5 separate regions of the Homo sapiens genome follow, and all the other regions are linked to region 3. Evidence: promoter capture Hi-C in 16 types of primary human blood cells and fetal thymus (Javierre and others, 2016). All regions are on one chromosome and are shown on one strand. Each heading gives the region's core, a stretch centred on a gene start or on the middle of the fragment in contact. The rest is flanking DNA. Distances are from core to core; before and after follow the strand shown.

Region 1 (3,069 bases), core at 349-2,848, 400 kb after region 3:
AGCAAGGAACAGAGATAATGGGAAGAAAAAGAAATAACAGAAAAAAAATTACTCAAAGAAGAAAGGCATAAAGCTTAGATTAAAAGCATCCACCCAAGTGCTAAGCCCTATGAATGAAAAGTAGTACTGTTGGGATTGTAAAATCAAACTTCCTGGGTTCAAACACTGGCTTTAAAACTCATTTGTTGGAAAATGAGTTGGGAAAAAGTTATGTAACTTTTTAAAGTTGGGAAAATTATTTAATTATTTAGTGCCTCAGTTTCCCCTTCTATAATAGGTGTGTAATAAAATATGACCTTCCTCACAGAGTTATTGTGAAGCTGTATCAAGTCAATGCATGTAAAGTTGTTACTACATGAAAGGGAGGGGAATGTAGTAATTACAACTATTATTATACACCATGACAAAATTGGGAGGTTAAAGAGAAAAGTCTAAAAGTTTCTGGAAAAGAAAAACAGAAAATCCATGCAGAGACAAAAATGAGCAACATTGGCCTCTAGAAAATATGGAACAATATTTACAAAATCCCTAAAGGAAAAAAATTGAATCTAGAATTCTTTTGCTAGTGAAGTGTAAAAGTGTGAGGCCAAAATACAGATATCTTCAACTATGCAAAGAGTCAAAATGTTTTACCCCCTAAAGCGGTATTCTAAAAAGGATTACTCAAGGAAGGCAAAATTAAAAAAAAAAAAATCAGAGAAGAAAGATGTGGGATATAAGAGGCAGTGGTAAGCAAAAAAGAAGTATGATTTACAGGTAAGTTTAAATACTACATAAGATGAAAGAAAATGTTTAAATCTGGCACTAAAATTCTAAGTAATTGCAACATTCATGGGGCAGAGTAGAATATACTAAGGACATGCTAAGCCTCTTTTTATGTTCAGGAGAGGACAGTTATTGATTAATTCTAAAGTAATAAAAAATGTTTGGTTACAACTTAAAATTTTAAGAGTAACCACTGGAATAATAGAAACAGGATATATAACTTTCATTTTTTTCTTCAATTGTCTGAAAAATGGAAAACTTAATGAGAGACAGAAATTGAAAATAAAAGAATGGAAAAAGGTACATACGTGGCAAAAAAAAAAAATGAGTCCTGGTATTCAAAGCAAAATTATTAAATGAGAAAAACAAGTATTTATTGTATTGATAAAAGGTATAATTCGGCAATAAGATATTTGAAGTAAACCTTTGTATATCTAAATAGTTTTGAAATATAAAAAGTAATAACTTCTAGAGATGCAAAAAGGAGAAACTGATAACTACATAATTAAAGTGGGAGACTAACACACTTCTCTGAAATTGATAGACCAAGGAATCAAATATAGTAAGAAAATAGAGAAGCCGATAACACAATGAACCTCTGTGATCTCGCTGAGATGTACAAAACTGCATATTCAACTGAAAATACATATTTTTTTAAACACTCATGGAAAGTTTATAAAAATTGATCATTTATTAGCAAAATACCCCATGATCATAAATTATAAAGGGGAGAAGTCAATTACACAGGCCTACACCTTTGGTAATAACTGGAAAGGTAATCAAGGGCCTGCTTTAAAATACATATATTAGACACAAATTGCCTATGGATCAGCTCTCCAAGATTTCAAGGAAATCTCTATGTTAAATAAACTCTTTCATATCATAAAAAAGGTAAAACACTTGCCAACTATTTCTACAAAACCAGATTAATAGACCCTAACATCAAAACCAGATATAAAGAGCAGAAAGGATGGAATTCTAATATCAAGAAATCTATTAACGTTATTTTTCATTACATATTTCATTACATATTCATTAAAATATTAAAGAAAATAAACCAACCAATCAACTCAGCATATGCTAAAAGAACATTTGATAAATTCTCATCCACTACTGAGAAAGCATAAAACAACAAAACTCCTCGCAAGCTAGAAATGGAAAAGTTCTGAGCCTGGTCAACACTTACTTATCTCTTACCTTCGAGCTGGTAGGTTGACACCTGCCGCTAGGGTAGATGTGCAGGTAAAAAGACAGAGCACTCCTGTGGAGTAGGCCTCCTCCAAGAGTTTCCTTTCATCACTTGTTAAGCCACTGTGGTGATAGGCAACTCCAAATGGGATAGTGCGCTTTAAAACAGGACACAGGTTGCCATTGCCAATATTCTTCAAGTTCTTAATCACCTCACATTTTTCTTTCTCCTTATGTTTCAGATATTCCCTATGAAAAAGATCTGTTAGAAATATGAGCCCTTGATCTTTTAGTGACAAAATTTCTACCATTTTCATTTTAGTAGATGCTAATGTAAACATTCTTTAATGTACTATTTCCATTGAGTTAAGTACATTAAATGTTCTTAGAATTTTGATTCTGACTTCATTAACTATTAGGCAGTCTCTCAATCTTTTTGTGGATTACAGAACCCTGTGAAAATCTTATCAAAACTAAGGAAAGGCGAAATGCGATGGCTCATGCCTGTAATCTCAGCACTTTGGGAGGTAGAGGCAGAAGGATTGCTTGAGCCCAAGAGTTCAAGATCAGCTTGGGCAGTGAAGCAAGACCACCTCTACAAAAAATAACAAAAATTAGCCGGGCATGGTGGTGCATGCACCTGCAGTTCCAGGCTATGGGGGAGGATGAGGTGGGATGATTGCTTGAACCCGGGAGTTTGAGGTTGCAATGAGCTATGAACCTACCAGCCTGGGTGAAAGAGCAAAGCCTTGTCTAAAAAAAAAAAAAAAAAAAAGGAAAAATATAACTATTTACATAAATACAACACTTTACATATAATTTCAGAGGGTTCGTGGATTTCCTAAAATTCATTCCTGTACTTCCTTTGAATCCATGGACACCAGGTTTAGACCTTTGCTCTGGATGTTATAACTGTTTTTTTCTTTATAACATATATCTTTATAGGGGATAGTTTTTTTAAAGACATAAATTTTCTTTTCTGAAGATGGAAACATACATATTATTAAATCATACTTCCATGGTAAAACACTGCCTAAACACTTGCACTTTAGAAACTTCACATCCTACAATGTTTCCATCACTTAGCCAGTGTCTCCATCTTATTACCTTGAATTA
Region 2 (2,750 bases), core at 230-2,729, 430 kb after region 3:
TTGCAAATTTGGGGCAAGTGAATAGCGCTAGAATTCTGTATGTTGGCTGGGTGTGGTGGCTCACGCCTGTAATCCCAGCACTTTGGGAGGCCAAGGCGGGCGGATCACCTGAGGTCAGGAGTTTGAGACCAGCCTGGCCAATGTGGTGAAACCCCGTCTCTATTAAAAATACAAAAATTAGCTGAGTGTGGTGGTGCATGCCTGTAATCCCAGCTACTTGGGAGGCTGAGGCAGGAGATTTGCTTGAACCCAGGAGGCGGAAGTTGCAGTGAGCTGAGATCGTGCCATTGCACTCCAGCCTGGGTGACAAGAGTAAAACTCTGTCAAAAAAAAAAAAAAAAAAAAAAAAGAATTCCATATATTGACAATAGTATAAAGTGATAGCTGCCTTTGAGGAAGAACCAAGAATTACAAAAACACACATACTAGGAAGATTATGCAAAGTGCCAAGAATAATGACTAGCACCTAGAAAGGTTCTAAAGAAGTATTTAAATAAAACATAAATTATAGCAAATGCCTGGTGTACTTGTACCTCTTGAAAATCTCATTACCCCCTGATAATTTATCTTAATGATTATCAGAGGGTAATGTGATAGCTTGTCAGGATAGATGAAATTTTTTAGTAGCTTGTTTCAAGCAATATTTTAGAAAGGTATCTGTGGAAGTCAAGAAAACAGATTTACCATTGAATGAATATGCTGATTAATCTGCTGTTTAATTATATATAGACTTGACACACTGGATAGAAAATATTTAAAAGGTAACAGGAGGATAACAATATTTTTTTCTTATATTTTATGAAATGTGTCTGAAATTTAGTAAAGCTTTATATAACCTGAAGGTTGTTTTTTGAAATTTACACATTCAGAAATAAATAACAGATACTTTTTTTTCCCCTCCACATAAAACTCCAAAACAGCTTTTGTCCCAGTTTGTTTCTCCATTTACTGGATGCATTTATGGAAGGCACATTACAGGTATGTTCTTTTTTATTATGGGAATATAAATGTAGATACGAATTATATCAATCTATTTCTATCATTTAAGAAAACTCAAATTTTCAAATTGTGCTATAAATTACTACTAGATCAGATACTACAGGGACTAGAGCTAGTTACTATGAAAAAGTCTCTTAGGCCAAGAGGATTATTATTTTGCTGTCTTATGCAGAGTTAACTATATAGAAAAACTGGGCTTTAAAAAACTGTTGTTGATGTTTTGGAATATACTATAATCATTCCTAGATTGATACTTAAACTTGGTGTCAGCAAACTATGGCCCATAGGCCAAATTCGACCTGCTCCCTTTTTATCTTGATTAGGTTCATCATATACAAATGCCACTTTTTTTTTTTTTTGAGATGGAATCTCACTGTCACCCAGGCTGGAGTGCTGTGGCACAATCTCGGCTCACTGCAACCTCTGCCTCCTGGGTTCAAGTGATTCTCATGCTTCAGCCTCCCGAATAGCTGGGATTACAGGCATGCACCACCACGCCTGGCTAATTTTTGTATTTTTAGAGATTGGGTTTCTCCATGTTGGCCAGGCTGGTCTTGAATTCCTGACCTCAGGTGATCCACCTGCCTAGGCCTCCCAAAGTGCTGGGATTACAGGTGTGAGCCACTGCACCCAACCCCACTTGTTTTTGTAGTTTTGTTTACGTAGTGCCATATGGTTGTTTTCGAGCTACAACAGCAGAGTTGAGTGGCAGTGATGGAGACTGTATGGCCCACAAAACCTAGATTATTATTGTGGCCCTTGACAAAAATGATTTACCAATCCTTGACTTAAAAACTTGTTGAGGCTGGGCATGTTGGCTCACACCTGTAATCCCAGCACTTTGGGAGGCTGAGGTGGGCAGATCACCTGAGGCCAGGAGTTCAGGACCAGCCTGGCCAATATGGTGAAACCCCGTTTCTACTACAAATACAAAAAAATTATCCGGGTGTGGCGGTGCATGCCTGTAATTCCAGTTACTAAGGAGGCTGAGGCAAGATAATCGATTGAGCCTGGGTGGCGGAGGTTGCAGTGAGGCGAGAGAGCACCACTGTACTCCAGCCTGGGTGACACAGGGAGACTCCATCTCAAAAAAAAAAATTGCAAACTTTAAATATTGACATTTTTTATGAATAAGAAAGCTTTTTATTTTACAGGTCTTTGTGGGAAGAAACAGAAAGAAATCACAAAAGCAATTAAGAGAGCTCAAATAATGGGTAAGAAAGAATACCTCAACAACTGAATTGAGCTAGCTGAAATTTTGCTCATTATGTTTTGTCAAGAACTTTAATTATCTCTTTACAGGGTTTATGCCAGTTACATACAAGGATCCTGCATATCTCAAGGACCCTAAAGTTTGTAACATCAGATATCGGGAATAAATTCTATCACGTTACCACTAATAAACTTATTTTACAGTAAGTGGTTGTATGATGCCAATACTGACTCAAACCAACCTTTGGATAGAAAAGTGTTTGAGGAGTGAGGTAAAGAATGACACTTCCCCTTCATACCAATGTCCATTAAGCAGATTGCTTATTTAAAATGTTAACACTCATCACATTTTATCTATGTTGAATAAAAGTGGTTCTGTGTGATTGTCATTTATATCTGATCCCCAAATAGCTCATACAATAATCCATTCAATAGAATGGAATTAAAACTGTTCAGAATGATTTTCCAACTAGCAAATATAAGTATGCCTGGTTAAGATATCTTCCCTTTGTAGAAATGTTACATTGGGATGGATAGTG
Region 3 (3,084 bases), core at 38-2,537:
ATTCTCGTGCCTCAGCCTCCCGAGTAGCTGAGATTACAGGCACGTGCCACCACACCCAGCTAATTTTTGTATTTTTAGTTGAGACGGGGTTTCTCCATGTTGGTCAGGCTGGTCTCGAACTCCCGACCTCAGGTGATCCGTCCACCTCGGCCTCCCAAAGTGCTGGGATTACAGACGTGAGCCACGGCGCCAGCCCTCAACATGAGTTTTGGAGAAGACAATTATTTCAAACCACAGTACCAGGAAAAGTGCAAAAAAAAAAAACCAAGGCAGAACAATTATGTGGTGTTGCTTGTGAGAGGTAAAATTTTATTTTATTAATATTTGCTTGTATTTGCAGAAATTCTATAAGAATACATGAGTATTGAATGTTATACAAACGCAGGCGACCATATAATCTTCCATTGAAATGGAACGGTTTCTAGAATGAAAGGGAGGATGTTATTATTATTATTATTATTTTTTGAGACCGAGTCTCGCTGTGTCTCCCAGGCTGGAGTGCAGTGGCGCGATCTCGGCTCACTGCAAACTCCGCCTCCCGGGTTCACGCCATTCTCCTGCCTCAGCCTCCCGAGTTGCTGGGACTACAGGGGTGCACCACCTACGCCCGGCTAATTTTTTTGTATTTTTAGTAGAGAACGGGGTTTCACCGTGTTAGCCAGGATGGCCTCGATCTCTTGACCTCGTGATCCGCCCGCCTCGGCTGCCCAAAGTGCTGGGATTACAGGCGTGAGCCACCGCGCCCGGCCGAAAGGGGGGATATTAATCATTACTCCAGGACGACAGAGGGAAAATCGCTTTGTACTGGACAAACTGGAATGTCTGACCAACCATTATAAAGTGCACGGAGTGGGAGGAGGAATAGGGACATTTTAATTGTATTTCTAAAAAGTATCTTCTGTGGTGAATCGGAAACAAAACTCATTCTTTACCACAGGCAGTTTAAGCGCTGCCTGAAAGATCGAAGGACGGTAAACCACAGACGTGAGAAACGGAACTTTGCGAAAACGCAGTCGTTTTATGTACCGGCTACTCATTGGAGTTACACCAGAGACTCACTACTGGAGTTCATCAGCCAATCCAAAGTCCAAGCGTGAGAGCCAGAGCCTGTAGGAGAGACCTGGGCAGGCCTCAGACCTGAGGAGTGGAGCTCCGCATCACTCAACCCTGGGGGCGGAGCTAGCCCAGGCTCCCACACCCGACGCTCTGGCCCACACAGACGCTACTCTGTAGCATCTCAGGTTCCCTCTGGCTGCACTCTGGAGGACCACACTCGTTTTCTTTTTGGCTGCCAGAGGCCCCCGCATCCACCGCTGAGCTGGGAGAAAGATGGCGGCAGCCGTGCGACAGGATTTGGCCCAGCTCATGAATTCGAGCGGCTCTCATAAAGATCTGGCTGGCAAGTGAGTATTTCCCAGGAACGCGGGAGTACAGAGGTGGGGAAAGAAAGCCACAGCCTTAATCTCCTTAGGTTGGCCACGGCTCTTGGGCGTGAAGCTAGGAGCCGGCCTGACGTCCAAGGGGGCGGGCCTGAGGTCGGCTGGGGAGGCAAATGTTGGGAGAAGCAGAAAGCTGGAGGGGACCTTGTGCAGGGGCCTTCGAGGCTATAGACTTGAAATGATTGTCAGCTTGTTCAGTTCTTGATAGAATCTTTCTGGTCCCTTAGGATTTTGGAACAGCGGTCTGAGAGACGACTGCTACCCTGGCCTTAGTAGCCTTCCCTGGTACCTCTTCCCATCGCTGGCCGGCCTCACACCGAATCTGGCCTCTCTTTGGACCTTCCTCCTCTTTTTTTTTGATTCAGAGAAATGTATATTCTGGGGCCTTGATGCTGCGTTTTTCGGGGAGATGGCTTCTTGGGGCTGGCTGAGGTTGAGGCGGTATGGCCGCTGTCATGTCGTCCAGACCATTCAGACTGTCTTCTGTGGGTCCTTGTGTTTCGGGTATTTTCTCTGCCACCAACTCTGATGGCACATAGGCGGAATGTGCTCATATCGTGGGTCAGGATGTCTACAGTAGTGATGTTTGCAGGAATCTGAATTTTGTCGAAATTTATATAGAATGCTTAGGTTCACTCCAAGTTAAAATGTGTGACGTGCCTGTTCTGCAAGCAGTTGTCAACAGTATTAAGCATAGGTAGGTAGACGTATATTGTTCATTTTCTCTTTGTAGATGTCACAGCATTTCTCTTTTGTAATGAACATGCTTTCTGTTTAAAGTATGCCTCTCTAGGCCGGGTGCAGTGGCTCACGCCTGTAATCCCAGCACTTTGAGAGGCTGAGATCACTTGAGGCCTGAGAGATCTGAGAGGGAGGATCACTTGAGGGCAGGAGTTCTAGACCAGCCTGGGCAACATAGTGAGACCCCCCCCCCCGCCGCCACCCGTCTCCGTAAATAAATAAGTAAATAAAGTATGCCTCTCAAGTTGATCTTAATGTTTACATCCTGACAGCTGAAATCACTTTGATGTATATTAATGGGATACACCTGTTCTAACCTGGTCATTGAAATTCTGACTGTTTTAAGTAGGCTAGGCTGCCTTTTCTCTGGTGGCAAACGTAATCTACTTTTATCAGTGGGAAATTCAGCCGTATATTTTGGGCTTAACTACTTTGTGCTGCATTTTCCCACTCAGGAAAATGAAGATAATAATAGGACTTATTCTTGTCTGACATTATCTGAGGACAAGATGAGTATGTGTGTGCATATATACTTACCACACTTATATCACGTAGAACAGTACCTGACATATAGAAAGTGCGGTAAGATTGTTGTTGTTACTATTAAGCTGTCAGTAAATATATATTCACTTATTGTATGGGTTGGAAATAAGTTAAATATGTCTTCATGGCTCAATCCTTTCTGCTTGTAATTTTTATATGGATGAAAGTAAAATCAGCTTATATTTTTCCCCATGCTTCCTTTACTTTTTATTTTGTTAAAGAAGAATAAGTGCATTAGTTATCAAAAGAAATAGAGCTTTGCAAGTATTTGCAGAATTCTGAAACTTAAGTATTTACTTCTTCAGGTCTGAATTGGAGATAAACAATAGTACTTAAAGCGTGCTTCAGTTATCTGTTGCTT
Region 4 (2,730 bases), core at 136-2,635, 450 kb after region 3:
CTATTTTTTTCACTTATCAAATTGGCAAAGATTAAAAGATTTGATAATACCTAGTGTTGGCAAGAGCATGGGGGCCGGGCATGGTGACTCACGCCTGTAATCCTAGCACTTTGGGAGGCCAGGGCGGGCAGATCACCTGAGGTCAGGTGTTTGAGACCAGCTTGGCCAAGATGGCAAAGCCCCATCTCTACTAAAAATACAAATATTGGCTGGGTGTGGTGGCAGTCGCCGGTAATCCCAGCTACTCGGGAGGCTGAGACAGGGATAATCACTTGAACCCGGGAAGCAGAGGTTGCAGTGAGCCGGAATCCCACCACTGCACTCCAGCCTGGGTGACAGAGTGAGACTCTGTTTCAAAAAAAAAAAAAAAAAAAGAGTATGGGGACCTAGGCACTTTTATATACTGTGGAGAAGCCTAAAATGGCATAAGTTTTCCAAAAGGCAATCAGCTAGTCTACCTCCAGGAGTGTGACTTTCAAATATACACTCAACAGCACAAAGAAATGTACAATACTAAATGTTCATGGTAATACTGTTTATGTTAACAAAAAAACCCAGAAAATCATTCTTAGATGGTTAAAAAAATTATGGTACGTCTATACAACAGGATATATGCAGCCAGCAGAAAGAATGATGGGCCGAGTATGGTGGCTCACCCCTGTAATCCAAACACTTTGTAATGACAGGAGGATTGCTTGAGCCTAGGAGTTTGAGACCAGCCTGGGCAACAAAGTGAGAACCTGTCTCTACAAACAATAAAAAATTAGCCAGGCGTGGTGGTGCATACCTATGGTCCCAGCAATACAGGAGGCTGAGGCAGGAGGATTGCTTAAGCCCAGGAGGTCAAGGCTGCAGTGACCAGTGTTTGTGCCACTACACTCCAGCCTGGCTGAAAGAGCAAGACCTCATCTCAAAAAAAAAAAAAACAAAGAGTGATGAATTATACACACAGATACTATTCTGTACTTGTGATATCTTGGGAGATATTAGGCACATATAGTAAGATCCCATTTGTGTAAATAAAAAGTATACACATTTGGCCGGGCATGGTGGCTCACGCCTGCAATCCCAGCACTTTGGGAGGCCGAGGTGAGAGGATCACTTGAGGTCAGGAGTTCGAGACCAGCCTGGCCAACATGGTGAAACCCCATCTCTACTAAAAATACAAAAAAAATTAGCCGGGCATGGTTGCGTGTGCCTGTAATCCCAGCTACTCCGGAGGCCGAGGCAGGAGAATCGCTTGACCTCGAGAGGCAGAGGTTGCAGTGAGCCGAGATCATGCCACTTCACTCCAGTCTGGGCGACAGAATGAGACTCCATCTCAAAACAAAAACAAAATGTATATATACACATATATATACACACACACATTTACATTTGTGTGTTTTATGAATATTGCAAGCTAGTAAGAATCCATGAAATAGTAGTTGCCACTAAGGAAACTAATGAGAGTTTAAATTTTTTATTTCCTACTTTATATATTTCTATTTTTAAACTTGTAAAGTAGCAAACAAAAATAACATACAGTATGAGTACAAACTGATATAATCTTTCCGGAAAGCAATCTGCTAATGCAGATCAAAAACCTTACAAGTGTTCATACCCTGTGACACAGTAATACCATATCTAGGAATCTATAATAGATAACGCCAAATATTGATATACAAGGATATTCACTGTAGTATACTTTATGATAATGAAAAACTAGAAACAGCTGATTATAACATATTTAAAGGAATGTTTAAATCACAGTAAGGCCACAGGGTAGAACACAATGCAGTTATGAAAAATAGTATTGTAGGCCAGGCATGGTGGCTCACGCCTGTCATCCCAGCACTTTGAAAGACCGAGGCGAGTGGATCACTTGAAGTCAGGAGTTCAAGGCAAGCCTCGCCAACATAATGAAACCCCATCTCTAATAAAAATACAAAAAGTTAGCCGGGCGTGGCAGCACACGTCTGTAATCCCAGCTACTTGGGAGGCTGAAGCAGGAGAATCGCTTGAACCTGGGAGGCGGAGGTTGCAGTGAGCCGGGATTGCGCCACTGCACTCCAGCCTGGGCAACAGAGTGAGACTCTGCCTCAAAAAAAAAAAGAAAAGAAATGAAAAATAATATTGTAGAGGATTATGCAACATTGTAAAGTGATCATGACACAATATGATGCCAAACCTTTTATAAAGTACACTACCAATTTTGTTTAAAAATACATACACATATATAGAGAAAAACTATATTAGACAATCAGAAAACTCCCTATACATTTTATTTCTTTTAACCATTTTTTTCCCTATGCATTTTAAAGGTTCTCCCCTGCTTTTCCCTAAAAGAGAAGCTGCCACCAGTTATAACTGCTTTAGCACCCACTCCTCAAACCCTTTACAGCCTGGTCTCTTCCCCATTACGCTCCAGAAATTACTGAGGATTTTCAGTCATCTAATAATCTAATTACTGCATTTTCTCAGTTCTCATCTTCCAACTTTTCTGCAGCATTTAACATTTTATCTTTTTCCTTGGTCTTCCTATTGCCGGGCCATCTTCCTACTAAACAGCAGGTGTTTCATCCTTGTTTCCCTGGCAGTAATCTTATCTGCTTCCTAAGTCTCATACTATTTCTTACTTTAGACCAGTCCATGGTCATAATTTTAACTGCAAAATGAGTACAACATATCCTTTTAAATTATTTTAAAATTAATATATATTTCTTATTTTTCTTTTTTTGAGACAGAGTC
Region 5 (3,134 bases), core at 343-2,842, 270 kb after region 3:
CAAACAGAAGCTTGTTAACATGTATATTAATACATGTATGTTAACAGAAAATACCAGGGAACAAGTAATTCTCAAAGAGGTGGCTTAGAACTCCAGCTTATAGAGCAAATTTTTGGACAAGAGACATGACAAAGGAAAAGGATTTTTAGTCTCTGGGGTGGCAAGTTGTGGGAAGGAAAATAAATGAGTATGTAATATAGATTCTTCTAGTGCCATCTCTACACTGATAAGGGTCTGAAGTTATCTTCAGTGATTAACTCTTGTTTTTCCTGGTAGAAAGGGAAGGAGGGGGACTTTTAAGATTCATGTCCTGCTTTTAGGCAAATGGAGAAGGACAGAGAACTTTTCTTCTATGTGTTTCTTCCCAGTTGCCTTTAGCTCGAAATAATCCTTATGCCAAAGTGGCATATTTTGGGGTGGCATATTCTAGTCTCCTAAAGTGGGTTCATATACTTTCCTCTGTATTTTGTATATGATTAAAATTTTCTATAGTAAAAGTTTTTCTTAAAAAACTGCGGATCGGTGGTGGGCACAATGGTTCATGCTGTAATCCCAACACTGGGAGGCTGAGGTGGGATGATCACTTGAGCCCAGGAGTTTGAGACCAGCCTGCACAATACAGTAAGACCTTGTATCAATTTTTAAAATAATAAATAAATAAATAAATCACCATTCAACACATACCCCAACTTTCCTTCTTGAAAGTAGAGGGAAAGTAGACTTAACAAGACAAATGGCTTTTGTTTCTCTGCTTAAATTCCACTTTTTCACTGGAGACAAGAGTGGAATCAATGTTTTCAAAGGAGACATAAGCATGGGTCAATGACTGGTAGGGTAGAAAGTATGCAGGCCTCAGAAGCAGGATTTGAATGGGATTTTTAAGAGTAACATAGGACTACAGTATGGCTTCCTGTAAATCATGCAACCTCTTCTCAATTTGAACTTCCTTATCTAAAAAATGGATCCAAGATACCTGCCTTGCCACCTCACAGGACTGTCATGCAAATAAAATAAAGTCACAGACATGTAGAGTGAGTTTAAGTCTAATTCTCTTGGATCTACAAGTGAGAAGGGTACCATTTACTCTTGCACATTTTTCTAGCTGACTGAGAACCTTGAAGGAGAAGCATATTTAGTGCATATACAAAGAGTTCGTAAGGCAAAGGTTTATGTCTGGGCCCTGGGAAAATTTGGATGAGATAAAAAGGTCAGGAGTAGATTTTGAATGTTTGTCTGGTGAAATTACTATGCTTAGTTTAACTCTATACATGACAGAATATACTTGGGGAAAGATAAATTCCATTTTTGCAAGATCACTTTTCTAAGAATTTTCTAAAAAAAGATGACTAATATGTTCCACAAGCTTGGATCACTATAGATAAAAAGCAATTTTGTTGGGAAGTCTATCCACAAACCACAAAAGCCTAGCTTATATTTTCACGTACGCTCTTTGCAAAATTTCTTAGCTTTCCTACAACATTCAAATAATTCTTTTAGGAATTATTCTTAGAAAATATATATCTGCAAATGACATTTTAGACTATAAAAATCAAGGTCATGCTTCTCAGGGCTACATCTGTATTATCCCTGACATATATTTAGACATACAGATCTTCCACGAGGCTTTTTGGGAAGAAACATTTCCTGATTTAGCACCAGATACAGTTGGAGGAAGGATTAGAAATAAGACTTTATTCATAAATATCTTGAAGATTATTAACAACATAGTAAATTCTTAGCATGAGATTTTTAAGCAAACACATGGTACTGGCTCATTTTAAGGTTAAATAAATTACAATTTCATAACATAAAAAATGTTTTGAAGCTTTGCGTACTGTAGGCAATTATAACTTTGATTTACTTTGTAAAACATTTGAAAATCCAACTTATTTTGTCTTGTATAATGAGTCATAAAATTTCAAATTATCCCCTTTTAAACAAAATCCACACTATACTGCAAATGGCTTACCTTTAAAAAGTTATTCCTAGCTCTTGATTTCTTCTCTTCAAACACACAAAAAAATGTTAGATTGGATGCTATCTAAGGCTCCTTCTAATTCATCATCTCATGATTTGGCTAGTTACTGAGAGGACTGACTGTTCATAGGAGGTTAACACCAGAGGTCCTGAGTTGACTTTAATCTACTCCACTAGAATTAGGAAAATAATGGTCACTTACAGGTAAAGGATCGAAGTTTTCATCCACTAAATGGTAGTTTCCTGCTCCAAAGAATACTTGCCTCATCACCACTTCTATTCCCATTCGGGCTGACAGGCCCAATTTATCCAGCCACCTGGGACAGAGCAAGACCAAGCTTTCTTGAGGTTTGGAAACAAAATCGCTCAATTCTAATTGCACACCATCTTGATTTTATTTATGTATTTATTTATTTACTTATTTATTTATTTAGAGACAGGGTCTCACTCTGTCACCCAGGCTGGAGTGCAGTGGCGTGATCATAGCTCTCTGCAACCTCAAACTCCTGGGCTCCATTAATCCTCCTGTCTCAGCCTCCCAAGTAGCTGGGACTGAAACCGCCTTTGCAAAAATTATAACTGAGGAAATTATGACAGTGAAAGAGATCAGACCTCATTGACTCCATCTTGCTTCTAACCTTTAAGCTGTCCTTCTTCATTCCTGGGTGTAGGCTGAACTAACTTTGGGAAGAAATTCAGTTCATGGTTTGACTCTGAAACAAAAATGATAATAGCCCTTTTCTGAAAAGACCCCCTTCTTGCCTGGGGACAAGTCTACCTTTGCAGGACTAACAAATTAGCTACAACATTAGAGATTACGGTTTAGGGATAATGCAGCCTCTGGCTCCAAGAGTCTGAACCTCCCCAAATTGTTCCTGGGGATAACATCACTGTTGTAAAACCTAAGATCAGTGCTTGAGATATCTTGCAGACCCTGAACTGGGTGGATCATTTGAGACCACCCAGACCGGTAATCTGGCCCAACCAGTTCTGCCATCCCATCCAGGAACAGAAGACAGCAAGAAAACCTCACTTCCACTCCCTGTGATTCCATCTCCAACCTGACCAACCAGCACTCTCCACTTCCTAAGCCCCTACCGGCCAAATTATCCTTAAAAGCTCTGATCCTCGAATGTTCGGGGAGACTGATTTGAGTA

The links. Contacts are between HindIII fragments. The CHiCAGO score rates a contact against its expected background, and 5 or more counts as called.
Region 1: a fragment that was not itself captured here is called in contact with the fragment with the promoter of COPS4 in region 3 in 2 of 17 cell types (neutrophils and naive B cells); the score reaches 10.4 in neutrophils.
Region 2: a fragment that was not itself captured here is called in contact with the fragment with the promoter of COPS4 in region 3 in 5 of 17 cell types (naive B cells, monocytes, naive CD8 T cells and 2 more); the score reaches 6.6 in naive B cells.
Region 4: a contact is called between a fragment that was not itself captured here and the fragment with the promoter of COPS4 in region 3, in 1 of 17 cell types (fetal thymus). The highest score is 5.3, in fetal thymus.
Region 5: a contact is called between a fragment that was not itself captured here and the fragment with the promoter of COPS4 in region 3, in 2 of 17 cell types (naive CD4 T cells and total CD4 T cells). The highest score is 6.0, in naive CD4 T cells.

What each region holds. Positions count from the first base shown.
Region 1 is chr4:83,434,896-83,437,964 of GRCh38, forward strand. HELQ (helicase, POLQ like) reads right to left here. Exons shown (of 18, transcript NM_133636.5): 9 at 1,963-2,202. Among named protein-coding and RNA genes, the nearest start is that of HELQ, 19 kb to the right of the region's middle. The HindIII fragment of the contact is 3,055 bases long and covers 72-3,069 here.
Region 2 is chr4:83,458,820-83,461,569 of GRCh38, forward strand. It overlaps MRPS18C (mitochondrial ribosomal protein S18C), which reads left to right. Exons shown (of 6, transcript NM_016067.4): 4 at 921-978; 5 at 2,154-2,213; 6 at 2,302-2,750. The coding sequence ends at 2,378. It overlaps ABRAXAS1 (abraxas 1, BRCA1 A complex subunit), which reads right to left. Exons shown (of 9, transcript NM_139076.3): 9 at 698-2,750. Among named protein-coding and RNA genes, the nearest start is that of MRPS18C, 4.1 kb to the left of the region's middle. The HindIII fragment of the contact is 1,313 bases long and covers 824-2,136 here.
Region 3 is chr4:83,033,896-83,036,979 of GRCh38, forward strand. COPS4 (COP9 signalosome subunit 4) reads left to right here and starts at 1,288. Exons shown (of 10, transcript NM_016129.3): 1 at 1,288-1,403. The coding sequence starts at 1,330. RefSeq lists enhancers at 808-927, 1,001-1,295, 1,058-1,407, 1,508-1,557, 1,598-1,657 and 2 more. The HindIII fragment of the contact is 6,632 bases long and covers 1-3,084 here.
Region 4 is chr4:83,479,049-83,481,778 of GRCh38, forward strand. The region is part of intron 2 of ABRAXAS1 (abraxas 1, BRCA1 A complex subunit); the gene reads right to left. Among named protein-coding and RNA genes, the nearest start is that of ABRAXAS1, 4.7 kb to the right of the region's middle. The HindIII fragment of the contact is 5,215 bases long and covers 1-2,730 here.
Region 5 is chr4:83,304,024-83,307,157 of GRCh38, forward strand. It overlaps HPSE (heparanase), which reads right to left. Exons shown (of 12, transcript NM_001098540.3): 9 at 2,180-2,294. Among named protein-coding and RNA genes, the nearest start is that of COQ2, 21 kb to the left of the region's middle. The HindIII fragment of the contact is 462 bases long and covers 1,362-1,823 here.